4 separate regions of the Homo sapiens genome follow, and all the other regions are linked to region 1. Evidence: promoter capture Hi-C in 16 types of primary human blood cells and fetal thymus (Javierre and others, 2016). All regions are on one chromosome and are shown on one strand. Each heading gives the region's core, a stretch centred on a gene start or on the middle of the fragment in contact. The rest is flanking DNA. Distances are from core to core; before and after follow the strand shown. Region 1 holds the start of CERS1 (ceramide synthase 1). Region 2 overlaps ELL (elongation factor for RNA polymerase II). Region 3 holds the start of ELL (elongation factor for RNA polymerase II). Region 4 overlaps ELL (elongation factor for RNA polymerase II).

Region 1 (6,734 bases), core at 2,485-4,984:
CAAGGAGTACCAGGCCAAGGTGAGTGGTGGGGATGGCCTGTCCCCGAGAACCAGGCCAGGGGGCGCCTGGAGCTCAGCCTGGGCTCACATGCGCCCTCTCTCTCTCCCTCCACCTGTCTCCCCACACCCTGCCCCCACCCTGTGTTGCCATGTGTCTTGCTAAAGGAGAACGACTTTGACAGGCTGGTGCTACAGTACGCTCCCAGCGCCTGAGGCTGGCCCAGAGCTGTCAGGACCATGAAGCCAGGACAGAGGCCAGGAGCCAGCCCTGCAGCCCTCCCCACCCGGCATCCACCTGCATCCCCTCTGGGGGCAGGAGCCCACCCCCAGCACCCCCATCTGTTAATAAATATCTCAACTCCAGGGTGTTCCACCTGATGATGTGCTCTGGTCACTTTGCTGGGGGCGTGTGGGAGCTGACGCTCAGGGAGAGTCCTGGGGCACTGGCATCCAGGGCTGTTCCTGGAGACCAGGGTCTGTGACGAGCAGCAGGTGTGCAGACCCCCACCCCGCCCCTCACACAGCCACAACCTGCTCCTGCAGGCCAGAGGCAGCACAGCCCTGTCCCCATGCTTCACCCTGGCCCCTAGAGGCCACTGAGCAGCCCTGGTTGGCATCGGGGGAAACTGAGGCACAGAGAAGTCATGCCGCTATCATGAGGGGCACCAAGATTCAAAATGAGAACCCCTAGTGGCCTGGAGGAAGTGGGGGCCAGGGCAGGAAAAACTCAGGCCTCAGCTCAGCAAAGCCGGAGGGGCCCTGCAGGGTCAGCGTTAACCCCAGGTGCTGCTCCTGCCGCCCCGCAAACCCTCCTCCAAGGCAGAGTCCTGCTGTGGCAGGGTCCTGGGGCCAAGCACCCAGCCGCGATGAGAGGCGGCCGCACCATTTAGGGAGGGAGGTGGGTGGGTGGCAGCAGGGCTGGCCGGAGCCTCCCAGATGTCACCATTGAGCTGTGCCCACCCGAACAACAAAAAGGAGCTGCCAGGCTAGGTTCTAGGGGGACAGGCACCCTGGCAGTGGGCATGACCGGTGCAGAGGTCCCTCGGTGGCACAGGGCTGTGAGGTCAAGGGGCGCTGGATGGGGATGCATGCCCTTTGACCTCTGAGCCTGGCCTGGGCTTATCTCCCAGGGAAAAGATAAGACTGGGTTTCCCCAAGCCACACCCAGGCCTATTCATTTGAAACCAGACCCCGTCTCTGGTTGCCAGGGCAGGACAGCAAGCGACCCCCACCCCCAGCCTGGTAGGGGAGGGAAGTGGCAAAAGAGGACTCCCTGGACAGGGACATTAGGAGGGGTCCAGGCCGAGCTTTCTGGAGGGAGGAGACCTTGGGGTGGGTGGGGGGACACTGGCCTCAAGACTGACCTCCGCCCAGCCTTGGGTGCCTGGTCCCCAGCTGCCAGTAGAGCCGCCTTCCATTCCTGCCCTGCACCCACCCGTTGGCAGCCTCCTGGCTGGACCCGCCAAAAAGAAATTCGAGGCTGAGCTGGGGCTAGTGGGTGGGTGGGTGGCGCCTCTCCCGTGACCGATGGGCGCCATGGTGACCAGATAGTGCTGGCCGAGAGGGTGGAGGGAGGTGGCTGGGACTGTCCACGGCTGCCCCACAGGCCTGGCTGGACCTTTGAGAGCATATCCCCCTCGTCCCCCTCTGCCTGCCAGGCAGGTTGTGGCGTTAGTCACATCTCTGGCCTCCGGCTGGACCTGAACTATTGGCCAGGCCAAGCCTCGTGCCCCACCCCTACACTAGGCCCCTAGTCCACATGGAGTCCACGTTCAAGAATAAAGAGTGGGGCCAGGCACGGTGGCTCATGCCTGTAATCCCAGCACTTTGGGAGGCCAAGACAGGCAGATCACTTGAGGTCAGGAGTTCGAGACCAGCCCGGCCAATATGGCAAAACCCTGTCTCTACAGAAAATACAAAGATTAGCTGGGTGTGATAGCAGGCGCCTGTAATCCCAGCTACTCGGGAGACTGAGGCAGGAGAATCCCTTGAACCTGGGAGGCGGAGGTTGCGGTCAGCTGAGATTGCGCCACTGCACTCCAGTCTGGGCAACGGAGCAAGACTCCAACTCAAAAAAAAAAATGAGCTGTATGTATGTAGGGGCAGATGGTGACAAGTGCCAAGCAGACATGAAGACATGAGGGGCGTGTGACTTCAGAGTCGGGGGCAGCCTGAGCAGGTGGCAGAAGAGCCATGCAGGTACCTAGGGGAACAGCATTTCAGGAGGGGGGAACAGCTAGTGCAAAGGCCCTGAGGCAGGACAGAGCTTGGCATGTTGGAAGAACAGCAGAAAAGCCCACAGGCGGAGGGAAACAGGGCGCTGTGAGGGCAGCCAGTGAGGACTTGGGCTTTCCCTGAGTGGAACAGGAGCCATAGAGGGCTGCAAGCAGACGAGGAACAGGCCAACAGCGTCGCAGCCACCTTCTCACCTCTGTGGGGTGAGGAGGAAGCCAGGATACCAGACGGAAGAGGGTAGTGGTGGTAGTGGTGGTGGTGGCGGGGAGCGGGGGGCAAGGCTGTGCAGATGCAGAGAAGTGGCCAGATGCAGGGCCACCTGGATGTGTTGTGGGGGACTCGGTGTGGGGCAAGGGGAAGGTGTGTTCACCTGTGCCCCTGAAGTTCAGGTGCAGGTGTTCGGGAGCCAGCGCGGCTGCTGCAGGACTCATCCCTGCATCCTGCACCTTGAAGGCCAGGTGTGGGGACATCCTGCGGGCTAGGATGGAGGGGGGGTGCAGCAGTGCCTGGGGAGATGGCGGTCCTAACAGAGGTGACCAGTGTCTTCCTCGATGGCCTTCAGTGGCTTTGGGCACAGGGCCTTGTCAATGAACAGTGCATTGGAAAGTCACTTATGGTGGTCCCAATGATGTCACAGTCGATCCAGATTGGGAGTCCCTCCCACGTTGGCACCCACTCCTGCAGCCTCTCTGCAACTCATGTATTAACCTGATGTTGGGGAGCCCCCCCCCCGGGTTCCCCAGGGTCACAGCAGCAAGTGACCCTCAGAGAACCCCCTAATCTCAGCAGCCCCCATCACACCTTTGTCCCAGTAGCCCGCTGTGCAGACCTGCAGAAGAAGATGCCTGGGAAGTGCCCAGGGTACCCGCGTCCAAGCTGGAACCCCATTGCCAAGCTCCTGGTGTAGGGCAGAGAGCTGCGTCTCCACTAGGTGCGCCTCCCAACGCCCTGGCGTGGGCCGTGTCCTTTTGAAGAATGAGAATGTTTCATTGAGCCTACGCCTCCTGAATGCGGGAGGGCCACGGGATGGTCCCAAGACTGTGCCAAGGCGTGCCAGGCCTCGGGTCCTTGAGAAGGAGCGAGGGCTCCAAGAACGGTGAGGTCGGAGCGGGCCGGGGCGATGGAGCGGGAGCGGCGTGGCGTGCTGGAGGGCCGGGAGAAGCGGGGGTCGCCAGTCGAGGGGACTGCCTGCTAGTGTCCCCCGTGCCCCCCGTCACGGGCACGGCGCGGTGGGGTGGGGGAGCGGGGGGCGCGCGGGGCAGGCATGGGGGCGCGACACGGCGGTGCGCGGGGTCTCTCGGGGTCCAGGTCCAACGGGCCCCCAGCTCCGGCCCCCGCGCCTGGGTTTCTCTGCTGGGAAACGGGCAGGGGCGCGGGCCCGCCTCCAGGGCGCCCCGCGTCCCCGCTGGCCGCCCCCCAGCCGCGCCCCCAGCGGGGCGGAGCTTGCGCCGGTCCCGCCCCTCCGCCCTCCGCTCTCCCGCCCGCGCGCCCCCGGCCCAGCTGCGGCGCGTGACGCGGGGCGCGCGGCTCCGTCGGCTACCGCGGGCGGGCGCAGGCGACGGGCACGGCGGGCGAGCGGGCGGTATGGCGGCGGCGGGGCCCGCGGCGGGGCCGACGGGGCCCGAGCCCATGCCGAGCTACGCGCAGCTAGTGCAGCGCGGCTGGGGCAGCGCGCTGGCGGCGGCGCGGGGCTGCACGGACTGCGGCTGGGGGCTGGCGCGTCGCGGCCTGGCTGAGCACGCGCACCTGGCGCCGCCCGAGCTGCTGCTGCTGGCGCTCGGCGCGCTGGGCTGGACCGCCCTGCGCTCCGCGGCCACTGCGCGCCTCTTTCGGGTCAGTGTGGCCGGGGGCCGGGACGAGGGGACCCCGGACTGGGGGAAGCCGGGACCGGGGACCTGGGGCCGCCGGCGCGTTCCTTTCTTCCAGCGCTGGCTGCTGCGGATGAAGGGGTCGCCGGAACGTGGGTGGGGGCCTCGGGCTGGAGAGGCCCAGGACGTTGGAGCCCCAGGATAAGGTCTCTCGGGCCGCCGCGCGCCCCCTTCAGACAGTGCTGCGTGGGGGAACCGGGTAGATGCGGGGGTGTGGCCGGGCTGGGGTGAGTCTGGGACATGGGGGGCCCGAGACAGGTGGGATGTTTGAGACGTGGGGGACCGAGGCACGGCCCTTTCCGGTCAGTTTGGGACCAGGGGGCCCCGCGCGGTGGATGGCTCCGGCCACCGCGCGCTCTTTCCGGCAGGGCCGAGCCAGACACTGAGAAGCCCAGGACCGGGAACGGGAGGGCTCGGCGCACCGCGGCCTGCGCCATGCGCCTCCCTGCCATGCGGGCTGCGCCCCGGCCCGGAGCGAGGTCCGCTGCCCGTTTTCTGCTGGGTCCGTGCGGCGGCGGGGCCGGCTTGCCCGCTGTAATCGGGAAGAGGCAGGAGCTGCCCGGTCGCTGCCTTGTGCCTATCTGGGGTCAGCGCCACCCTCCGACCAGGGATGGCAAGGGCCTGGGTGCTCTGGCCACGCCAGTGGTCGCTCCCTTGGAGGTGACATGGCCCGGGGCTTCAGGGTTGGACTGTGCTGCCTCCAAGAGGCGACAGCAGAATTCCCCAGTTTCTGCGGAGACCATCGCCCCTGCGAGAGAGTGACCATGATGGTGACATTGGCGCCTGACCCCACTCACTTCCCTGGGGAGGGGTCGCTGTGGCAGGAGCTGGTTGGAAGGTGTTTGGGCCTTTAGCTTGGCCTGGACACCCCCGTGGACCAGCTGGTGTCACCCCGCCCGTCTGGCTGGAGGGTGCAGGGACAATGTGCCCAGCGCCAACAAAGGGGCCTTTCTCTGCTGGCCGGGAAGAGGCTGGCCCTTGTGAGGTCGATGATGGGATGTTGTCTGACTGCCACTCTCCCCACTCCCGTCCCCATATCACCCACATGAGGGAGAGACCCCAGCCACACCCCTACTGTGGGAGGGGGAGACAGGGCTGTCCAGGGCCCCTCCCTGGGTCCGCAGTGGTCTTTATCCTGCTTGTTGCCCCTGCCTTCTTCCCAGTTTCCAGCTGGGAAGCCCGAGACCCAGGAGGGCAAGCCGTCCCCCACCCCTGCGGGACAGGAGGATGTGGCGGCTGGTAGACTACCAGGGCCGAGCCCCGGGGGCCCTCCCCAGCCCCTTGGGTGGGGTGCTCGCCCCATTTCGAGGCTCGCCCTTCCTCAGAAATGGGTGGAGGGGCTGCCGGGTGTTCCAAAGCTGATCTTCTTGGCAGCAGCCTGGTTGCCAGGGGTTACCGGAGCCGGCTCCAGCTGTCTCCATGACAACTGCTGGGTGCTCTGGGCTCCGGCCCCCTCAGCCTCTGGGAAGGGGGTGGGACTTGTCCAGGGGTGGGGCTTGGCCGGGCAGCTCTGGAGCCGCGCCCCGCCACCCACCCACCCACCGCACTCCCCAACCCCTGCCTTGGAGCCAGCAGCTTCCTCTGCACTCCCAATGTCCCCTCAGGGTCTCACCTCGCCTGTGACACCTTTTCCGCCTCCTGTCCCCTTTTTCTGCCTCCAGCCCCTCCTCCCCTTTCATCGCCCCCAGGTTCCCATGTCCCCGCCACACCTTCCCCCTAGTCTCTCCCAGCCCTCTAGCCTCTCCAGAATCTCCCACTGAGGGGGCGGCTTCCTCACAAGTTCTTCCTCTCCCCTCTGTGTCGGTCCCATGGGGCTCTCTGTGTTTCCCAAGATGCCCCCATATAACCCCCTCCATGTTCCCTTCAAGGGTCACCCCCACCAGCCCAACTCCCTTGGGCTGACGCATCCATCCGTCTCCCTCATCGTAAGCCCAAGTGTCCCCCTTCTGGCCCCCAGAGCCCTCCTGCTCCCCTCGGGGCCTCCCCCCTCACTCCCCTCCCAGCACCGCGGCGGCCGGACAGCTGGGCACTAAGTTTAGCCTTGGCAGGCGCCTGTGGGCTCTGTTTATGCTCCAGGTGGCTGTGGGCATGGGGGACAGGCCTTCCCAGTGCTGCCCGGCCTGGGGAGTCCCTGGGCCTCAGTTTCCCCACCCCAAAGGAGCAGTCTCTGGCCCCCAGCACCAATGGCTGCCCGCCTGTCTTCTCCCCCATAGCCCCTGGCGAAGCGGTGCTGCCTCCAGCCCAGAGATGCCGCCAAGATGCCCGAGAGCGCTTGGAAGTTTCTCTTCTACCTGGGCAGCTGGAGCTACAGTGCCTACCTGCTGTTTGGCACCGACTACCCCTTCTTCCATGACCCACCATCTGTCTTCTACGGTAGGGGCCCTGAGGGGATGGCCGGGAGGGCTCTGCTTAAAACACAAAGACGCCAGGCTTGTGGTCCCAGCTACTCATGAGGCAGAAGCAGGAGGATCACTGGAGCCCAGGAGTTGGAGGCCAAGGGGAGCTATGAGCACGCCACTGCACTCCAGCCTGGACGACAGAGTGAGACCCTGTCTTGTATCAAAAAAGAAAAAGAGGGCCAGGCGCAGTGGCTCACGCCTGTAATCCCAGCACTTTGGGAGGCCAAGGTGA
Region 2 (6,552 bases), core at 1,612-4,111, 390 kb after region 1:
GGAGCCGTGTTGAGAAGGATTCTGAGGCGATGTCTGGCGTAGAGCGTAGGATCAATGAGACAGGGTCCCTGGCCCTCTGATCATAGCATCTCTGTGGGGAGAGTTCCCTCTAATCTCTGAGCTGAGGAGGGTAACGAACTCCTAGGTGTGCAAGGTGAGGTTCACATGCTGTTGAACGGAAGTCTGCTTTTGTTTTTTCAGACGAGGTCTTGCTCTGTCATCCAGGCTGGGGTGCAGTGGTGTGATCATAGCTCACTGCAGCCTTGGCTCCCGGGCTCAAGTGATCCTCCTACCTCAGCCTCCCAAATAGCTGGGACTACAAGTGCGTGGCACCACACCTGGCTAATTTTTTATTTATATGGAGACAGAGTCTCCCTGTGTTGCTCAGCCTGGTCTCAAACCCCTGACCTCAAACGAACTTCCTGCCTTGGCCTCCCAATGTGCTGGGCTTACAGGCGTGAGCCATGGCACCCAGCCGAGCAGAAGTCTGGGCTGATGCTGCACCCCAGAGGCACAGGAGCTTTGGATCCCTTTCCCCCTGGGGGAGAGGGTAACTTGCCACAGTCTGCTCTGAAGCAGCCCGGGTGTCCCTCCACTGTGGGAGGCGGCTTAGGAGCAGGCGCACCTTGAGGGTGGCCCAGGCAGGTCGCTGGAGGGTGCGGGAGACAGGGCCCAGGCCTGGGGCGGTGCCAGCAGGGCTGTCTCCATGTTGACTGTGGGGGGCTGGTTCCAAGCCAGGCTTCAGACCCAGCTGCTGCGTGTGGCATGGCCTGAGTGCCAGGGGCAGCAGCCTGGGCACACATGGGCACCCAGGGCTTGGAGGGAGGCTGGGTCAGTGGGCCTAGGTGCAGAGCTTCTGGGTGTCTAGACTGTTGTCCCAGGGATGGCTGAGGGCCAGCATGGGGGGCCCAGGCTGCCACCTTTGCCTCACTGGTATTGGCCACATGTGTGCTGGGTGGTCTGTGTAGTACAGAGCAGGACACAGGGTGGGGGTACCTGACTGTACAGTGGTGCCACCCTCTGGGCCTCAGTTTCTCCCTCTGCTGTGTGGGGTCATCCTGTGGGTGGGAGGTCAGGTCAGTGCCTGCAGCCCCTCCTGCAACTCACATTCACCTCTCCTTACTTTGCTTTCCTGTCCGTGGGGTGTTTTGGGGTTCAGGGAGCTGTGTCCCAGGACATCAGGGGAACACAAGCCGCATCCCGTGGCCCCCACTCCTCTCCCGTCCTCTTCTCCCCTCCCCTGTGTGTGCCTGGTGCCTTAGGTGGCTTGCAAGGCGCCAGTCACACACTGTTTCCTTTCCCGGCTTAGCCCTTTCCCATCACAGAAACCCCAGCTCTCTCCCAGGCTATCTCATAGTAAGGAGCCTGCGTTACTGAGGGCTGTTGAAGCACCAAAACCTAGGAAACTCTGGATGAGGTGAAGAGCATGTGTGTGTGTGGCACAGGTACTATGGCCCTGCCCAGTGCTCTGCACACCTGCCTTCCTGCCTGCCTGGGAAGTGGGATGAGTAATGGCAGTAGCTGGGGCTTATTGCCGGGTGCCCTTGCCCGTGGGAGGGTGTGACTGGCCACAGCATCCTTAGGATGAAGAATTGAGTAGAGAAGAATAGCAAAAGCTATCTTCAGTCCTAACAAGAGCCTAACTAGTTGGGATTGCATTTGCTGTTGGGTGAGCTGTGGCAGATGCAGAAGAAAGCACACCACAGAGGAGAGGGGAGGGGAGGAGAGGATGGGAGAGGAGTGGGGGCTACGGGACAGTGGCTTGTGTTCCCCTGATGTCCTGGTATGTCACTGCCCTCTGGCACACAGAAGTTGCCCATCGTTCTCAGTCGCCTGAGGTTTGGCCATGATGGCAGGAGGGTGAGATGTCCTGAACCTTGACCTGCTGCTCCCACAGCCCTGGCAGCCCAGAATAGTCAAAGCCTGGGTTGTCTCCACAAGGCAAGAGTTTTTTCCTCTGCTGGAGCTGTGGGCTGAGAGCCTCCTGTGCGCAGGCATCACACATCCCCAGGCCAGGTGGCTCCTCGGGTGCTCAGGGCTGTGGGGGCTTTGTGTCCCTCAGGCCCTGTCCACTGGACAGGTGGTGGCAGGGCTCCGTGGAGAGTGTCCCAGAGTAAATGGGTTCTGGTATATGCAGTGTTTCTCATGACAGCCCATGGGGTGTGTTGGTGGGGGGAGATATAGCTCATGTGCCAGTGTCACTCTCGGGCCTTGGCAGGGATGCAGCTGGGAGAGTTCTGTTTATTTAAAGTCGAGCCTCAGGTTTTCTGCTGTGACTTATTAACCCGTTGATCCACCCTGTGGGCGGTGCCAGGCTCTTCTGAGGCCTGACAGGTGGGCCTAACCTCTGCTGACCAATGACAGAGAGCATCACTGCTCTGATGACCGGACCCAGGCTGCAGGTTCTGGAGTCTGTAGCCACTTCCCCTTCCTCCCAGGCAGAGATGAACGTGACAGGGATGAGATGTACATGGCAATTTCAGATGGGAGTTGAAGAATGCTGAGCTCTGTAGAAAATGTAGGGGAAATTTAGCAAAGCAAGCCACGCGTCATGGATTTCAATCAGGATGTGACTTGAGATGTGGGTAATCCCGAGAGTCACAGATTGCTTTGGAAAAACAGAGCAGGAGTGGCCTCTGTGCGTCAGTGAGCACACCCTTAGGTAGATGGCTGACAGATGCCCTTTGCCCACCTCCCCTCCTCCTCAGCCTCACCCCTCCAGCCTCTCTGTGCCGTCCCTGGCCTGTTGGCACAAGTGGCTGAGGAGGCCAAAATGAAGTGATGCATGCTTAGCAGAGGTGCCAGCACAGTTGACCCCTGCATCCGCCGTGACAGCCCGCAGATCCTCTGCACGCTGCAGCCACCAGGCGAGGCCTCCCTGGATGCCGAGGAGTCAGTGCTTCAGTGAGCCCCTTGGATCAGGCGGGGGGATGTGAGTGAGCGGGTTGTCCACATGGATAGGAGTGGGGTCAGACCTAGCGTCTGGCCAGAGTGTGTGTCCTTAACCTTGGCCAGGCAGCAGCCAGGCCCCCACGTGTGACTCCAGTTAGCCAGGTGCATTCTGAACGGGAGTGATGAGTGACAGTCCCGTGGGCCCTCATCCAGCCTGCAGCAGGGAAGGCTCCCTGAGGAGGGAAGCTCGGCAGGACCCAAGGAAGGGTGGTGTTTCTGAGCCCTAGGCGGGTGCTTGGGAACAGCCCATTCTCCACTCCCGCTGGCTCCAGGTGGCCAGAGTAACAGGTCCCGTCCCTTCCCACCACTGCTCAGACATCTCCTCACAGCCCCTGAGTGCTCAGCAGCCGTGGCTCTGCACGTACCCTGAGCTCTGGGTGTCTGGGGCCACATCAGCTCACTTGGTGAACTGTTACTAGATGAACATGTGGTGGGGCCGGGTGAGGAGGAACGTGTGTCCTGCAATAGCCTGTTCTGTCTGTTCCATCACCTCCAAGAGCCCACATCCTGCCTGGGATTCCCAGTACGGGCAGCTCAGTTCCTCAGAGCCTGGCCAGACGTGCCCCCCACTTGCTGGGGCTCCCTCGCTCCTATGGGTCTGCTTCACTCCCTTGCTGTTCTCCAGCTTTGCCAGTTGCCTTTTCCAGAAATAAGACAGAAAAACTCTGTCACCTTCTTTTCATCCCACTTATCACCCCAGGGTGGGGGTGCTCCCTCCCAGATGCCATAAAGATACCCGCGGCCCTGACTGCTGGGCGGGCGGTGCCACTGGACACTCTCCAGACCACGGATGCTTACAGGGATGTCCCTGCGCTGGGTGCCAGCCTGGCACAGTGCGAGTTCCCTTTTCTTTTTAAGCCAGGTTCCTGTTTTACCACATTAAACCAGCTGTAAAGTGCCACTTTATAAAATAAGCAAGTGATAGGGAGCCACTCTGGCAGGGCCCAGGGAGCCGAGCAGTGCCTCCCAGCCCTGTGCCTGTGTGTGGTGGGTGTGCAGCCACTGGAAGTGCCGAGCTGCCTGCCTGGAGCGCTGGCCTGCCCTGTTAATAACCGAAGCTCTGCTGGGCATTGGCACACCCGGCCAGGTGGCCCCGTGGTTTCCCAAGACAGGGGCTTTTGGATTCCGCATTGATGGCCCAAAACTCCTTCCCTAAGTTGTCTCAGAAGCAAAAACAGGAAGGTCATTGGGTTTCTTTGCAGAACACTAACCCATGCTGCCACCCCGTGTTCCCACTCCTCCTCCTGGCATCTGCAACATGACAAGTGGCAGGTGTCTGGTGTCCGTTGTCATTGGGCCCTCTCTCTCATTTAAACACCGTCTCTTCCTCCTCGGCTTCTTCAGTTGTCATCTCTCAGAGATGGGATTTTGGGAAGTCCCATGTGTGGATTACTGGGACTTTTGTGGTTGGGGATATTTGATCTTTTAGTTATAAACGTCTGCTCCTGATGCGGCTGGTTGCAGGATTTCCCTGGTGGTGGGGGTGCCCGCTGGCAGAATTGACTAAGGTGAGCTCACTGCTGGGTTCTGGCAGCCCTGCCCACTGCGAGGCACAGTCACCACAGGCCTGGCCCTCACCTGGGACACCTCCCTCCCCTCCTGGCCTGCCCACAACTCAGAAGACGTAGTTGGTGCTCTCCACGGATGATGGCTCCAGGGAGCCTTTGTGTACCCACAGCTGTTCCATGGTCCACCCTAGGGTGGTCATGTGTCTCCCTTGCTGTCCTGGAATCCTTCATTCACCTCTGGGTGCTGGACTGGGGGTGTGCGTCCTCAATGGGCTATCTGGCTGTGGTGGTAGGAGCCTCCCGGGTGCTCCTGCCCCGTGGAGCTGTGGGGCACCAGGCAGCTTAGCGTAGAGCACCAGAGCACCTCCCACTTGCTGTAAGCTCCTTGTCCCCATGCCAGGTGCTGCTCATGCCTCTGTGGGACGCACTCCAGCAGCCTCTGGGGGTGACGCCTGGTTCCTGATCGTGTGTCTTCTGACCCCAAACCACCCTCATGAGGCCCCAGGACCTGCCCGCCAGGCCCCAGTGTTTCTTCCTCTTCCTCTTGACTGTGTTCAGGGCCTTCTTTTGGAAAGGGCTGTCCTGGTCACTGGTGCCCATGCTGCCTCCCCTCCTTCCTGCCCACCCGCAGACACGTAGCTGGAGGTTGAGGATGTGGGGGAGATGCTCCCCAAGGATGGACCATTTGTGGGAGAGTCCGAATTTGCCTGGATTGGTGGTTTCAAGTTTCTTTTGCTTTTATGTGATGCCATCACCTCTTGGGCCCCCAGGTGTGTCAGATGGACCAGTGGGAAGTGCCTGGGATTGGGCAGATCCTGTCCTAGTGAATCCTGGCTGTCCTCGTGTGCACTCGTGAGTAGCCGGCCCCTGGCTTGGCCCCCGTCTCATCCGCCTGGCTCTGAGCTGGCTGTGCCGTGGACCAGTGTCTTGCTCCCTTCTGCCAGTGGCCCCTCACTCCAAGGCCCCGGCTGGCCTGGAAGAGCTGCCTTGAAGTGTGAGGCACGTTGGAGGGTCCGCCTCATTGTTGAGGCGTGGGCCCCTCCTCGCCAACAGTGGGCCCATCCCAGGCCCTTTCCCACGTTCTCTCGCTCAGCAGGGTTTTTGATTCCTCTTAATTTGGTGTTGGTGCTGGGCACACACAGTATTGCTCTCATCCGGGTCTGCTTGGTGGCTTCTCATGTGTTTTGCCCACTTGCGTTACTCTCTGTGGTCCATGGCTGTGCTCACCACTGTTTCCCATTGGGTGGTTTGGCGTGGAGTGGGGTTCACTGTGTCACAGGTTGTCTACGTGGCCCCTGGAGGTGTGCTGCTTGCTGCCCACAGGCATAGCTGGCGAGAACAGTGTCGTGGCCCGCTCGTTCTTCTCCTGGGTGTGCGCCCACATGCTTGGGATGGGACGGCATTGCCTCTCCTGCTGTGAGTTTTGGCCCAAGTTCGGTGGTTGGAGGTTGGCCTGCTTCCCTGCAGGTTCTGCTCTGTGGAGTCACAGAGTCAACTCTGTGGAGTTGAATTTGGCGAGCAGCCGCCATGTGTTCACTTTCCTGAGTGTGATCTGTGTGCAAATTGGCTGGTATTTTTTGAAGCACTCAAACTGTATTAGGCTGTTTTTGAGAGTCTTGGGTATGCTTCAGTGTACCTCAGTGACGTATTAAAAAGCTAAAGCAGTGTTTTTGAGTTGAAAAATAGTGAGCTTTGTATGGCCCCTGACAGTTCCCAGAGCTATTTTGCACAATGGTATGTTCCAGCCCAAGACCACCCTCTGCCATGCTGCCCGGGGCCTGGCACAGGGAGAGCTCGCCAAGAGGTTGCAGGGCACCAGTGTTATGCCGACCTTCCCAGGGGACCAGTCGACCTCTCCATCGGCCCCAACACACAGCTGCTTCCTTGAGGGAACCTCCCAGTTCCCGTCTCTCCTTTTGTGAGAATGGACTCTCTGGGAACAAAGCTGTGCCAGGTCCTGCCTGGAGAAAACTGGATTCTGTGTGTAAGATTTCAAATGTCACAAGCAGCCAGTTGATGGAGCGGCTGTGAAGGTGGTAGGAGAAGTGGACCTCTTGAAGGGCACTTGGTACAGCCCAGTGGGGTTCATTTA
Region 3 (6,445 bases), core at 293-2,792, 370 kb after region 1:
CCGGGCACAGTGGCTCATGCTTGTAATCCCAGCACTTTGGGAGGCCGAGGTGGGTGCATCACTTGAGGTCAGGAGTTCCAGACCAGCCTGACTAACATGGTGAAATCCCGTCTCTACTAAAAATACAAAAAATTAGCTGGGCGTTGTGATGGGCGCCTGCAGTCCCAGCTACTACTCGGGAGGCTGAGGCAGGAGAATTGCTTGAATCCAGGAGGCGGTGGTTGCAGTGAGCCGAGATCACACCACTGCACTCCAGCCTGGGCAAGGAAATCGAAACTCTGTCTAAAAACAAACAAACAAACAAAAACTGGGGGAGGTGGCTCACGCCTGTAATCCTAGCACTTTGGGAGGGCGAGGCGCGCGGATCACCTGAGGTCAGGAGTTCAAGACCAGCCTGGTCAACATGGTGAAACCCCATCTCTACTAAAATACAAAAATTAGCTGGGCATGATGGCGGGCGCCTGTAATCCCAGCTACTCGAGAGGCTGAGACAGGAGAATCGCTTGAATTCAGGAGACGATGGTTGCATTGAGCCGAGATAGCGCCACTGTTCTCCAGTCTGGGCTGATGAGCAAGACTCCGTCTCAAAAAAAAAAAAAAAGAAAAGAAAAGAAAATGGAAGTCTGGGCTTGGTGGCTCACTCCTGTAATCCTAGCATTTCAGCAGACCCAGACAAGGAGGATCAGTTTGAGTTCAGGAGGTCGAGGGTGCAGTGAGCCATGATGGCGCCATTGCACTCCAGCCTGGGCAACACAGCAAGACCCCTCAAAAAAAAATTAAAATAGGAAAATGAAGCTGGACTGCACCATCGCTCAGGGACTGTGGGGATGTAGGATTTTATCCTATTAAAAGTACTCATCTCATAAGAAAAAGTTTACCAGCTCCTCTTCCACCTACCGGTCCAGCACCTTCCCTGGGTGGAAGTCCCATCCACCCCGCCTAAGGGATGCCTTATGTGTCCAACCCAGCGTCCAACGCGCGCGCTCCGTTTACATAGCCACGCCCACCCTCCCGGCCCGCGGCGGGGCCTACCCACCCACGTGTTTCGAGCCGGCTCCGCCCCTCCACGCCCTCTCTGCGGCTTTCCACAGAAGCCAAAGACGGAAGACTGTAGAGATCTCATAAATAATGCATCACGTCAGCGGCTGTAGGGGCGGGGCTTTGACGCGCCTGGCTGGCTGAGTCAGGGTTATGTATAATACTATGGAGGCGGGGCCTGGAGGGGTGCGCGTGTTGAGGCGGAGTTCGTTCACGGAAGTGGCCACCCCTAGGGCCTGAAGAGGCGGGGCCATAAGTGCCTTATGAATATGCAACAACTTGGGGCGTTGACTGTGGGCCTTGTGGGGCCCTCATGGGGCGTGGCCAGGCGCGTCTCCTGAATAATGTAGTGCGCTGCCTGCCGGTGTGGCGGCGACTGTTGGTTTGGTCGGACTCGGGGGGCGTGGCCAGCCGCGTCTCATGAATAATGCAGCGCGTCAGCGGGCGGCGGGGCGGGGCGTGGCCGGCGTGGCGGCGCTGGAGCCGGGAAGGGGGCGCGGGGGAGAGATGGTCGCAAGATGGCGGCGCTGAAGGAGGATAGGAGCTACGGGCTGTCGTGCGGGCGGGTTAGCGACGGCAGCAAGGTGTCGGTGTTCCACGTGAAGCTCACCGACAGTGCCCTGAGGGCCTTCGAGAGCTACCGCGCCAGACAGGTGAGTGGCATGGCGCCCGGCGCGCCAGTGGGGAACGTCCGGACGCGGGCCGGCCTCGCGCTCCCCTCACTGAGGCGTCCGGGCTCGGAGACGCTAGGTCTGTGGTGCTGCTCGCGGGTCCCTGGGCCGGCGGGGCGCGGAGTGGGCGCCAGTCCGGCCTGGAGCGCTGAGAACCGCGTTCCTTCTCAGCACTAGGAGGCAATACAGGCGGGTGGCCCGGGGCTGCTGAGGGGCCCAGACTCGCGCGCCGGGCCCGGGGGGCGTCGGTGTCGGCACCTGGCGGCGTCCGGGGCCTTTCTGGCCTGCTGGGCACCTGGGCAGGGTCCAGTTTGCGCACCTGGCGGCGGGGCGAGGAGGCGGTGGGCCGCACGGTCCCGGCACCGTGATAGGGGGAAGCTGGGGGCTTTTCCATCTGGGGCCGGGGCAGCGCCGTTGGTGGGGGTGACTGTGTCTGTCCTCCTGGGAAGCAGCGATCGTCTGGGTGCCCGGCAGGGGGTGGTCAGCGAGGCACTTGTGGGGGTCTGTTCTGTCTGGGTGGAAGGCTTTGCAGCTGGGGGCTGGCTTTGACGCGTTCCGATGAAGCCACTCAGGTTGGGCCACTTTGGTTCTTGGGACGGGGAGTTTGGGCAGAAACTGACAGCTTGTCCCAGCTTTCTGCTCCCCTTACCCCCAGGTGACCCTCTCTCTCCGGAGAGAGGTTCCTTGGAGAGTGGAAGTGTTGGGGGCGGCTGTGATGTTATCCTCAGGGCACATGTAGGGGATCCCTGCCACCCAGGAGGAAGCTCTGGCTACCACATCTGGCCGCTGACTCTGGAACTTCTCAGAGGCCGATTTGGGCCCATCTGGGGGAAGTTTGAGGCGTTTCGGTTCTGCCACCTGGCTGGTGGTGGGGAGGGGAGGCTGCTGTGTATGTTCTCTTGGGCCTGACTTTGGGGCGCATCTGGGGCCGTGGTCAGAAACCTGCCTTTTTCATTTCTGTTTGTGTCATGGCCCCCCCTCCCCCCGTCTGTGCTGGGTCAGAAGTTGCAGATGACCAGTGGTCAGGTCCCGAGGGGAAGTGGTTTAGGAACCTTGTAACTCCTTTTCTGGAAATTGGGGGCTTCATTGCCCTAAAGGGAGTGGGGGTGGGTCTAGTCTCGGGCTCAGAGAGCCCTGCTCCCTGCGTGTGTGTGTGTTTGTGTATACTGTTGATGGTGGGGGTGGGGGGGTGCCGCGGGCGGGGGAGGAGGGAGACTAACTAGGAAGGAATGTGGCTTTCTTCCTGCCCCGAACTTGTTCAGCTCCATTAGCTAAGCCGAGAATTTCTTCCCCCTGTTTCGTTTCCACCACTCTCCCGGTGCCCACCCCTTCCGTGCTTCTTCCCATGTCTTTGGGCAATTTCCTCCCTGTCCCGGTGTCGCAGTTTTCCCCTTCATGGAATGAGGATTTCATTTTTTTTTGAAAGAGCAAGTTCGCACCTTGTCAAAAAGACTCCCCAAGATGAGGCTAAGGCGCCCCTGCAGGTGAGGAGGAGACAGTGGCAGCGACAGCAGCTGCTGGCCCATGACCAGCCAGAGCCTCTCTTCCTGGTAGAATTCTGGCCCTGGGTCTTTTTCCCTGAGCGATTCTGACTTGTCCTGCAGGAAGGCAGGCTTTCCTAGAAACAGCTGGGGGAGAGCTCGTGAGTCATATAACTACGATGGACTTGGTACCTGGTCACCACTGTCTTCTGTGCTTTAGGAACCAGGAGCTCCGCCTTCTCTCTGATGCTGCCCTCGCTTGCTTTTCAGTCCAGAAGGTCCGCCTGTGTGTCCACCTCATGCTGTCACACTGCTATTTTTACTTTAGGGTATTGGTTACATCCCCTCTCTAAGCTGGATCTTCCTCATGTTAGGGTGAAGGTAACTGTGGACTGTTAAACTCCTCTGGCTCGGAGCCCAGCTGTGTAGGGCAGTGTGTTGACCAGCCAGGAGGGGCTTCCTAGAAGAACTTTTCCAAGCCATCCAGAGCAACTTGGCTGGCTGGATTATATTTTGGGGTGATTCAAACTTGGATTTTTCTCAAAAAGCTGTCTGGTAATTTAAGTGGCTTGGCCACTTTCTTTCTTTCTTTCTTTCTTTTTTTTTTTTTTTTTTGAGATGGAGTTTCACTCTGCTGCCCAGGCTTCATTGAGGTGGCGCGATCCCGGCTCACTGCAGCTTCTGCCTCCCGGGTTCAAGCGATTCTCCTGCCTCAGCCTCCCGAGTAGCTGGGACTACAGGCACGTGCCACCACACCCGGCTAATTTTTGTATTTTTAGTAGAGACAGGGTTTTGCCATGTTGGCCAGGCTGGTCTTGAACTCCTGACCTCCAGTGATCCGTCCTTCTCAGCCTCTAAAAGTGCTGGGACTACAGGCATGAGCCACTGCTCCCAGCCAGCTTGGCTACTTTCGAATTTAATCTTGCCCATGGGGCAGTATAGTGGATGGACTTTTCTAAGGCACGGCAGCTCCGTGCTCTCTGTGGTTTTGGGTAGTGAGCTTGAGGAAGGTGGCTTGAAGAACTTGATTGTGTAACCAGAGAAATATACTGGTTATGGACAAACTCTCATGTGGACAACTCTATCACCCAGAAGCCAGAGTTTTGTATTCCTCGATGCTGTGGTTATATAGTTTGCCAATTGCAACTTGTGGAGAGGGCTTTTATTTTTAATTTCTTTTTTTTTTTTTTGAGACGGAGTCTTGCTCTGTTGTCCAGGCTGGAGTGCAGTGGTGCGATTTTTCGTGTTAGCCAGGATGGTTTCGATCTCCTGACTTTGTGATCTGCCCACCTCGGCCTCCCAAAGTGCTGGGATTACAGGCGTGACCAACCGTGCCCGGCCTATTTTTAGTTTTTAATTGTGAAGAGGCTTTTACAAATTCAGGTGTGGCAGGGGCTAGAAAGGAACTTGCTGTGGAACTTTCTCTGTGGCTCCCAGGAGCAGGTAATCCTAGCTCTGGGAACAGCCCAGGTAGAAGCCCTCCTGTTTTCTCTCCCCAGAGGGCTCTGGTGTTGACCTGGTAGCCAGCTGGAGCAGCGTGGTGGAAGGTAAAGGCGCAGCAGTACACATAGCTGCTGGCCTTCTCACTCTACCTTGGACTTTGTGCAGTTTTTCTTTCCTTTTTTTTTTTTGAGACAGGGTCTTGCCCTGTCGCCCAAGCTGGATTGCGCTGGCGTGATCTCAGCTCACTGCAACCTCCGCCTCCCGGGTTCAAGTGATTCTCCTGCCTCAGCCTACCAAGTAGCTGGGATTACAGGCACGCATCACCGTGCCTGGCTAATTTTTGTATTTTTGGTAGAGATGGGGTTTTACCATGTGGTCAGGATGGTCTCAAACTCCTGACCCCTCAAGTGATCCATCTGCCTCAGCCTCCCAAAGTGCTGGGATTATAAGCTTGAGTCGCCACGCTGGGCCCCCTTTTTTTTTTTTTTTGAGACAGGGTTTTGCTCCATTGTCCAGGCTGGAGTGCAATGGCATGATCATAGCTCACTGCAGCCTCGAACTACCACCCTCCTGCTTCAGTCTCCTGAGTAGCTGGGGCCACAGGTGTGCACCACTGCACCTGGCTAAGTTTTAAATTTTTTTGTAGAGACGGGGTCTCACTATGTTGCCAAGGCTGATTTCAAACGCCGGGGCTCAAGTGATTTCCCTGCCTCAGCCTCCCAAAGTGCTGTAATTACAAGAGTGAGCCATCGTGCCTGGCCTAGTTTTTGTTGTTGTTGTTGTTGTTTTTTGAGACAGAGTTTCACTCTTGTTGCTAGGCTGGAGTGTAATGGTGTTATCTTGGCTCACTGCAACCTCAGCCTCCCAAATAGCTGGGATTACAGGCATGCACCACCATGCCCTACAAATTTTGTACTTTTAGTGGAGACGGGGTTTTACCATGTTGGTCAGGCTGGTCTCGAACTCCTGACCTCAGGTGATCCTCCTCCCTTGGCCTCCCAAAGTGCTGGGATTATAGGAGTGAGCCTTCGTGCCTGGCCTAGTTTTTCTCTTTTCTTTTCTTCTTCTTCTCCTTCTTTTTTTTTTTTTTTTGAGACAAGGTCTTACTCTGTCACCCAGGCTGGAGTACAGTGGTGTGATCATAGCTCACTGCGGCCTTGAACTCCTGGGCTTAAGTGATCTTCCCACCTCAGCTGCCCAGAGTGCCGGGACTACAGGCATGAGCCATTGTGCCTGGCCCAGTTTTTTTCTTTTTCTTTTAATTAAAAAAAATTTTTTTTTGTAGAGATGGGGTTTCCCCATTTTGCCTAAGCTGGTCTTGAACTCCTGGGCTTAAGGGATCCTCCTGTGTCGGCCTCCCAAAGTGCTGGGCTTACAGGCATGAACTACGTGTCTGTTTTTCTTTGAATATAAAAACCTGCATGGGATGGCCGGGCGTGGTGGCTCACACCTGTAATCCCAGCACTTTGGGAGGCTGAGGTGGGAGGATCCCTTGAGGTCAGGAGTTTGAGACCAGCCTGGACAATATGGTGAAAACCTGTCTCTACTAAAAATACAAAAAAATTAGCCAGGCGTGGTGGTGCATGCCTGTAATCCCAGCTACTTGGGAGGCTGAGGCAGGAGAATCTGGGAGATGGAGGTTGCAGTGAACCGAGATCGCACCACTGCACTCCAGCCTGGGTAACAGAGGGAGACCCTGTGTCAAAAAACAAAACGAAACCTTCATGGGTTGTGAGGTGGCTGTTCTTGTGGATCTCCCGGTTTGCTCTGATGAGTGATTTCTGGGAGAGGGGAGAGTGGAAGCATGGACAC
Region 4 (6,358 bases), core at 598-3,097, 410 kb after region 1:
TCAGGCCCTAGAGCGTTCTCATTCACCTCAGAAACGTCAGGAACCCAGGGCTAGGAGAGGCCCATGCTGTGCCCTGGAGGACCCCAGTGACCTAGGTCAGTCCCTTAGCTTCTTCCATTGTCAGATGTGATCAGATCATGGTCACTGTTGTCTGGGGGAAAGCAGTTGTTATCTGGCACCGCAGACCATGGGCAGAAGGCAGGTTTGGTGAGAGGGCAGTTTCTCGAAGGCCTTCCGTTCAAAATTCCTAGGTCCAGTACCTGTTGTTGGTGAGTTTTAGTGAATGATTAAAAAGAAAAACAAAACCCCACCAAACTCTTGCACTCCTCTTGAGGAGCACAGGTGGAGGCAAAAGAGCATTGGTTGTGAAGCCTCATGTGCTTCCTTGCCGGTTTTGTTATGTTTTGTTTTGTTTTGTTCTAAAGACAGTATCTCTCTCTGTCACCCCTGCCGGAGTGCAGTGGTGGAACCATGGCTCACTGCAGCCTCGATCGCCTGTGCTTAGGTGATCCTTCTGCCTCAGCACCTGAGTAGCTGGGACTGCAGGTGCGCATTACCACACCTGGCTAATTTTTAAATTTTTTATTTTTCTTTCTTGAGACTGAGTCTCACTCTGTTGCCCAGGCTGGAGTGCAGTGGTATGATCTTGGCTCACTGCAACCTCCCCCTCCCAGGTTCAAGCGATTTTCTTGCCTCAGCCTCCCGGGTAGCTGGAATTTCAGGCACCTGCCACCACGCCTGGCCAAAGTTTGTGTTTTTAGTAGAGATGGGGGTTTCACCACGTTGGCCAGGCTGGTCTCGAACTCTTGACTTCAAGTGATCCACCCACCTCGGCTTCCCAAAGTGCTGGGATTACAGGCGTGAGCCACCACAGCGTCTGGCTGCCAAACGGGATTCTGTGCCCATCACACTGGCACTTGCAGATTTGCTCTGTTTCAGACACTGCAGAGTGCGCTAGAGGGGACAGAGGGGCCTGACACTGTGGCCCAGGTGCCCATGGAGTGTACTTGTGCAGCAGGTGCCCACATACGACAGCGTCTTTCCCTGTTTGAAGAAAGGCAGATGCAAAAGGTGGAATAATAAGGGGGAAAGGCAAAGTTAAGGTGTTGGCAGGAGGGCTTGTGCCAGGCATGGGTTGCATGGCTCTGAGATGCACTGTCCTGGAAGCAGGCCTGGGCCATGCCTGGAGATTGACCCATGGAGGTGCAGGCAGGGTGGGCAGGGCAGGCAGGGTGCTTGTCCCTCCCTTGGAGGGAGACTTCTGTCTGTCTGATGAAGCAGGGCTCAGGGACATAGAAGCACTGTAACTTGAAGAATTGTGTAGTAAATGTTTGTCATATCCTGCTACCCTGGGATCATGTGAGGTTGGATAAGTTGTGAAATCTTCATGGGGACCCCAGGGCTCAGTTTTCCTGTGAGGTTGGGATGAGGTCTGCTGTGACCTCGGGCAGCCCTGTCCTCTCTCAGTACCTCATTTTCCTCAGTTGTAACAACCGGAACCCGATCCCATGCAGTTTAGGATGAGAGTGGGTTAGTGATGGAGGCTGGCCGTCTGTGGTACCACGAGTCCTTGCGTGTGATTTGGCTGTGATTTCTACGGACAGGGAGTCCAAGCAGCTCCCCCACCCCCAGCTATGACGCAGGAATGGACAGACATCTGAGGGGCTTCCCATGAGACACAGGCCACTTTCTGCTCACCTGCTGAGCGCCTTCTGGAAGAAGGACCTGGATAGTGTCCAAAAACCCTGCACTGCAACTGCCAGGTGGGCGGTGGCATCCGGGGAATATCCAGGGAGCATCTGTGGTCATGACCCAGGGTGCATGCAGACAAAGGAATCTGAGAGACCCTTCACTGGGGGCTGTGGCAGCCACGGGTGTAGGCAGGAGTTACCCAGAGCTGCTAGTTTGGGAGGGGAGAGGGGAGTTGGTAAAGAATGGCAGTTTGGAGGATTTTCCTAAAATAGAGCTATTTAAAAAAAAGATGGGAGTGTGATGGCTCACGCTTATAATCCCAGCACTTTGAGAAGTTGAGGTGAGAGGATCGCTTGAGCCCAGGAGTTTGAGACCAGCCTGGGCAACACAGGGAGACCCCCACCTCTACAAAAGAGTTAAAAAAACAACGTAGCTGGGCATGGTGGCACAGCTGCTTGGGGATAAGGTGGGAGGATTCTTGAGCCCAGGAGACTGTGGCTGCAGTGAGCTGTGATAGTGCCACTGCCCACTGCCTGGGCAACAGAGTGAGGCCCTGTCTCAAAACAACAGCAGCAACAACAACAACAACAACAACAACAACAACAAAAACCAAAAAGATGGGAGGAACTAAGACACAAAATCAAGACCCACCCATAAAAGAAAAAAATTGAAAAATTCCACTCCATCAAAATTAAGAACTTCTGTATTTTGAGAGATACTGTTAAGAGAATGGAAAGGCAGTCCAGGCGCAGTGGCTCACGCCTGTAATCCCAGCATTTTGGGAGGCCGAAATCACTTGAGGTCAGGAGTTTGAGATCAGCCTGGCCAACATGGTGAAAACCCGTCTCGACTAAAAATACAAAAAAATAAGCTGGGTGTGGTAGTACGCACCTGTAGTCCCAGCTACTTGGGAGGCAGAGGCAGAGGCAGAGGCAGAGGCAGGAGAATTGCTTCAACCCAGGAGGCGGAGGTTGCAGTGAGCTGAGATCACACCACTGCACTTCAGCCTAGGTGACAGGGCGAGACCCTGTTTAAAAAAAAAAAAAAAAAAAAAAAAAAAAGGAATGAAAAGACAAGCCATGGACTAGGAGTAAAATGTAAAATTTATCTGATAAAGCTCTTGTATATAAAAAAAAAAACCTCAAAACTTAGTAAGAAAATGACCCAATTTTTAAAAATGGGATAAAGATTTGTACAGCTTCACCACTGAAGCTAGAAGAATGGCACATTAGCCTGTAAAAAGATGCTCAACATGCTTAATCAGCAGGGAAACCCAAACATGAACCTCCACGAGCTGTCACTGCACCACACACCTACCAGAATGGCTGACATTTTAAATAAGCTGACAGCACTAAATGTTGACGTGGATGGGGAGCAACAGGAACTCTCATTCGCTGCCGGCGGCAGTACAAAATGGTACAGCAACTTTGGGAGCCAGCCTGGCAGTTTCATATTAAATTAAATGTACACCTACTCTGTAACCCAGCAGTCGGGCTCCTGGGTGTTCACCAAGTGAAATGAAAACACGTCCACAGAAAAACCTGTCCATGAGTATTTATAGCTGCTTGATTCATTAATTCTCCAGACTGGAAACAACCTGTGTCCTTCATCCAGCAAATGGATGCACGGGAAGGTGGCGTATTTATACTGCGGGGCAACACACAGGATGGATCTCAAAGGCGTCATGCTGAGTAGGTGGTTGGCTGAATCATGGCCACAGCAGATTCCAGGAACCTGTGAGTGTAACCTTCTGTGGAAAAAGGGACTTTGCAGATGAGATTAGGTTAAGGATCTTGAGATGGGGAGGTTACCCTGCATTATCTGGGTGGTCCCTGTTTGTCATCACAAGTGTCCTCGTAAGAGAGGGACAGATTTAATGTAGACAGAAGAGGACTTGAAGGCTGCATGACCCCAGTGGGCAGAGATTAGGGTGATGCAGCCACAAGCCAGGGAGTGCCTGAGCCTGCAGCAGGTGAAGAGGCCAGGAAAGGTCCTCCCCTAGAGCCCCCAAAAGGAGGGAGCCTGCTAACACTTGGATTTCAGACTTCTGGCCCCCAGTCCGTGAGAGAACCAGTTTCCATTGTTTTAAGCCACAAGTTTATGCTCAGTTGTTGCAAGGACCACGGGAAACTCATCTTATGTGATTCCATTGATAAGACTTTCTGGAAAGGCAAAACCATAGGGACAAAAAAACAGATCCAGGATTGCTGAGGGTGCGGGGAGGGTCAGTCTCCAAGTGGGGATGCAGGAAATTGGGCAGAAAGGAAGGTGGCCTGCTCAGCGTGCTGTCCTGGGAAAAGCAAGCAAGGTGCGTGGAGCGTGTAGAGGCCACAGTTTTGGGCAATCTGCATATTTTTGTCTACAAGATTTCTGAAAAACCCTTTTCCATAAGCTTTCTATGCACCTTCGTGAATGCAGATAGAAATATCTGCTGCGGGCTGGGTGCGGTGGCTCACACCTGTAATCCTGGCACTTTGGGAGGCTGAGTCTGTCGAGTTGCTTGAACCTAGGAGTTCAAGTCCAGCCTGGGCAACATGGCAAAACCCTATCTCTACAGAAAATAGAAAAATTAGCCAGGTGTGTTGGTGTGTGCCTGTGGTCCCAGCTACTCGGGAGCTGAGGCAGGAGGATCACCTGAGCCTAGAAGGTCGAAGCTGCAGTGAGCCGTGTTCACACCACCGCACTCCAGCCTGGGTGACAGAGTGAGAGCTTATCTCCAAAAAGAAAGAAAGAAAAAAAATACTTGCTATGCCGGCCACTGAATTACACTTGGCTTGTAGCCAGTTGGAGTCCCTTTCCTGCTCTTACAGGCCCACCTGGCCTGCTGAACACACCATCTGTCCTCCCAGGCTGGCAGAGGAGCTGCCGTGGGTCCTGCCCTCTGCTCTGCCCTGACCGTGGCCACCTGGTTCCCTAGGCTGGAACCAGTGAGGTCCACAATGTGTCTGTCCAAGTTCCCTAGCTCGTCCCTGAGCCAACCAAGCTCACTGGGCAGATCTTCCTTTGTTTTGTAGTTCACGGAGACAGCCCCACTCAGTCACTGTCTAAACTCTCCGTGGCCTCAATGTCCTGCTCCAGTCCTGCCAGGAAGTCTCAAGGAGGATTCCTGAATAGCGTTTCCCAATCATTTGTGCTTTACTGGAAAGGGGGGGCCTGTTGTGGGGAGGCCACCGTCCAGGGCTCTTCCCGGGACTTCACCTTCCCTCTGCTGGACCACACGCCGTGGCTTGGCAGGGTGACCCAGCTCTGTAAGATCAGGACGTGTGTGCTGACACTGGTGCTTGGGAGAGTCAGCAAGATGGACTTCTGAAGAAGGAACAGATGCATTCCTTTCTGTCATTTCCTGCATCAGGGGTGGGGTGGCAGGCCTTGCCCAGTAGACAGCAGGGAGAACGTGCTGCCTGGGGAGAGTGGGCACTTCTGCTGAGTGGGTGCTTCTGGAGGGTGGTGGGAAGGATCATGTGTCTTTGGGGCAGCCTTGGCACCTGCTGCCTTGGGCCTCATTGTCCCCAGGCTGGTAGCAGGTATCCTGGGACCTGGCCAGATTGGGCCCCGTCCATCTGTCTGTGTGTCTCATCTCTTCACTGTGCCCTCTCCCTAGTTTCTGTCTTTGCTGGAGAGTTTTTAAAACAATCCTAGATTTTTTTTTTTTTTTTTTTTTGAGATGGAGTCTCACTCTGTCGTGCAGGCTGGAGTGCAGTGGCTTGATCTCAGCTCACTGCAACCTCCGCCTACCGGGTTCAAGCAGTTCTCCTGCCTCAGGCTCCCGAGTAGCTAGGATTATAGGCGTATGCCACCATGCCTGGCTAATTTTTGTATTTTTAGTAGAGATGGAGTTTCACCATGTTGGTCAGGCTGGTCTTGAACTCCTGACCTCAAGCAGTCCACCTGCCTCAGCCTCCCAAAATGCTGGGATTACAGGTGTGAGGTACCATGCCTGGCCAACAATCAGATACGTTCTTCTTCACCCGTAACTTTTCCATTTATATTTTATATTTGTTGAAGGGAGCAGGTCTTTTTTCCCATAGATTTTTCTGCTTTCTGCTCTGATGGTCGCTTCCCGTGGCAGGGTCAGCCCAGGGCTTCTCAGCCCCTGCACTGCTTGACATTTGGGGCAGGAGGTTCTGTGTTGCCTGCAGTGTGCTGAGCAGCATCCCTGGCCTCCCCCGAGCCAGATGGTGGGGACTGTCCCCGCCCTCAGTGGTGAGGACCAGAAATGGCTCCAGACATTGCCTCGTGCCCTGGGGAAGATTCACCCACCACACTTCCTGTAAACTGGTCACTCGGCCTGGAGGTGGATTTCGTAAGCCACTTCCTGTTGCTTCATCCCCGGAAGTGCTCTTTGCCGGAGGGGAGAGGATCAGGGGATTCTGGCCCTGGAGAGGTTCCTCCTCACCCTTTCCTCTGTCTCAGCATTGAGGACTCTCACTGCCTCCCAGGCTCTGCACCCTCGACCCTTTTCCCAAAGGCATTGCTGTCTTTACAGGAGTGTCCTCATTGAGGGGGAGCTGCCTACAGGAGTCTCCCAGTCTGTGTTCAGTAGCCCCAGTGGGCGCCCAGGCCAAGTGACCGCAGGGCGCAGGCATCACTGCCCTGCTGTGTTGAGGTCTGTTCTCCGAGTCAGGGTCTGAAGTCCAGTTGGGTCTGGGGAGCACCAGCCTCGGCA

What was found. The method cuts DNA at HindIII sites, captures the fragments that hold promoters and counts their contacts. A CHiCAGO score of 5 or more calls a contact.
Region 2: a fragment that was not itself captured here is called in contact with the fragment with the promoter of CERS1 in region 1 in 1 of 17 cell types (total CD4 T cells); the score reaches 5.3 in total CD4 T cells.
Region 3: a contact is called between the fragment with the promoter of ELL here and the fragment with the promoter of CERS1 in region 1, in 1 of 17 cell types (non-activated CD4 T cells). The highest score is 7.3, in non-activated CD4 T cells.
Region 4: a fragment that was not itself captured here is called in contact with the fragment with the promoter of CERS1 in region 1 in 1 of 17 cell types (erythroblasts); the score reaches 6.3 in erythroblasts.

What each region holds. Positions count from the first base shown.
Region 1 is chr19:18,893,158-18,899,891 of GRCh38, reverse strand. CERS1 (ceramide synthase 1) reads left to right here and starts at 3,734. Exons shown (of 8, transcript NM_021267.5): 1 at 3,734-4,068; 2 at 6,317-6,476. The coding sequence starts at 3,820. GDF1 (growth differentiation factor 1) reads left to right here and starts at 3,734. Exons shown (of 8, transcript NM_001492.6): 1 at 3,734-4,068; 2 at 6,317-6,476. It overlaps COPE (coat protein complex I subunit epsilon), which reads left to right. Exons shown (of 10, transcript NM_007263.4): 9 at 1-19; 10 at 166-378. The coding sequence ends at 213. RefSeq lists a silencer at 4,684-4,733. The HindIII fragment of the contact is 17,655 bases long and covers 1-6,734 here.
Region 2 is chr19:18,500,370-18,506,921 of GRCh38, reverse strand. The region is part of intron 1 of ELL (elongation factor for RNA polymerase II); the gene reads left to right. Among named protein-coding and RNA genes, the nearest start is that of ELL, 18 kb to the left of the region's middle. RefSeq lists enhancers at 2,240-2,289, 5,510-6,496. The HindIII fragment of the contact is 9,226 bases long and covers 1-6,552 here.
Region 3 is chr19:18,517,167-18,523,611 of GRCh38, reverse strand. It overlaps ELL (elongation factor for RNA polymerase II), which reads left to right and starts at 1,542. Exons shown (of 12, transcript NM_006532.4): 1 at 1,542-1,691. The coding sequence starts at 1,557. RefSeq lists enhancers at 1,049-1,378, 1,522-2,037, 2,038-2,553 and silencers at 1,769-2,078, 2,809-2,858. The HindIII fragment of the contact is 8,691 bases long and covers 1-5,085 here.
Region 4 is chr19:18,478,704-18,485,061 of GRCh38, reverse strand. All of the region lies in intron 1 of ELL (elongation factor for RNA polymerase II), which reads left to right. Among named protein-coding and RNA genes, the nearest start is that of ELL, 40 kb to the left of the region's middle. RefSeq lists enhancers at 443-943, 944-1,444, 6,123-6,192, 5,606-6,358. The HindIII fragment of the contact is 4,478 bases long and covers 1-4,086 here.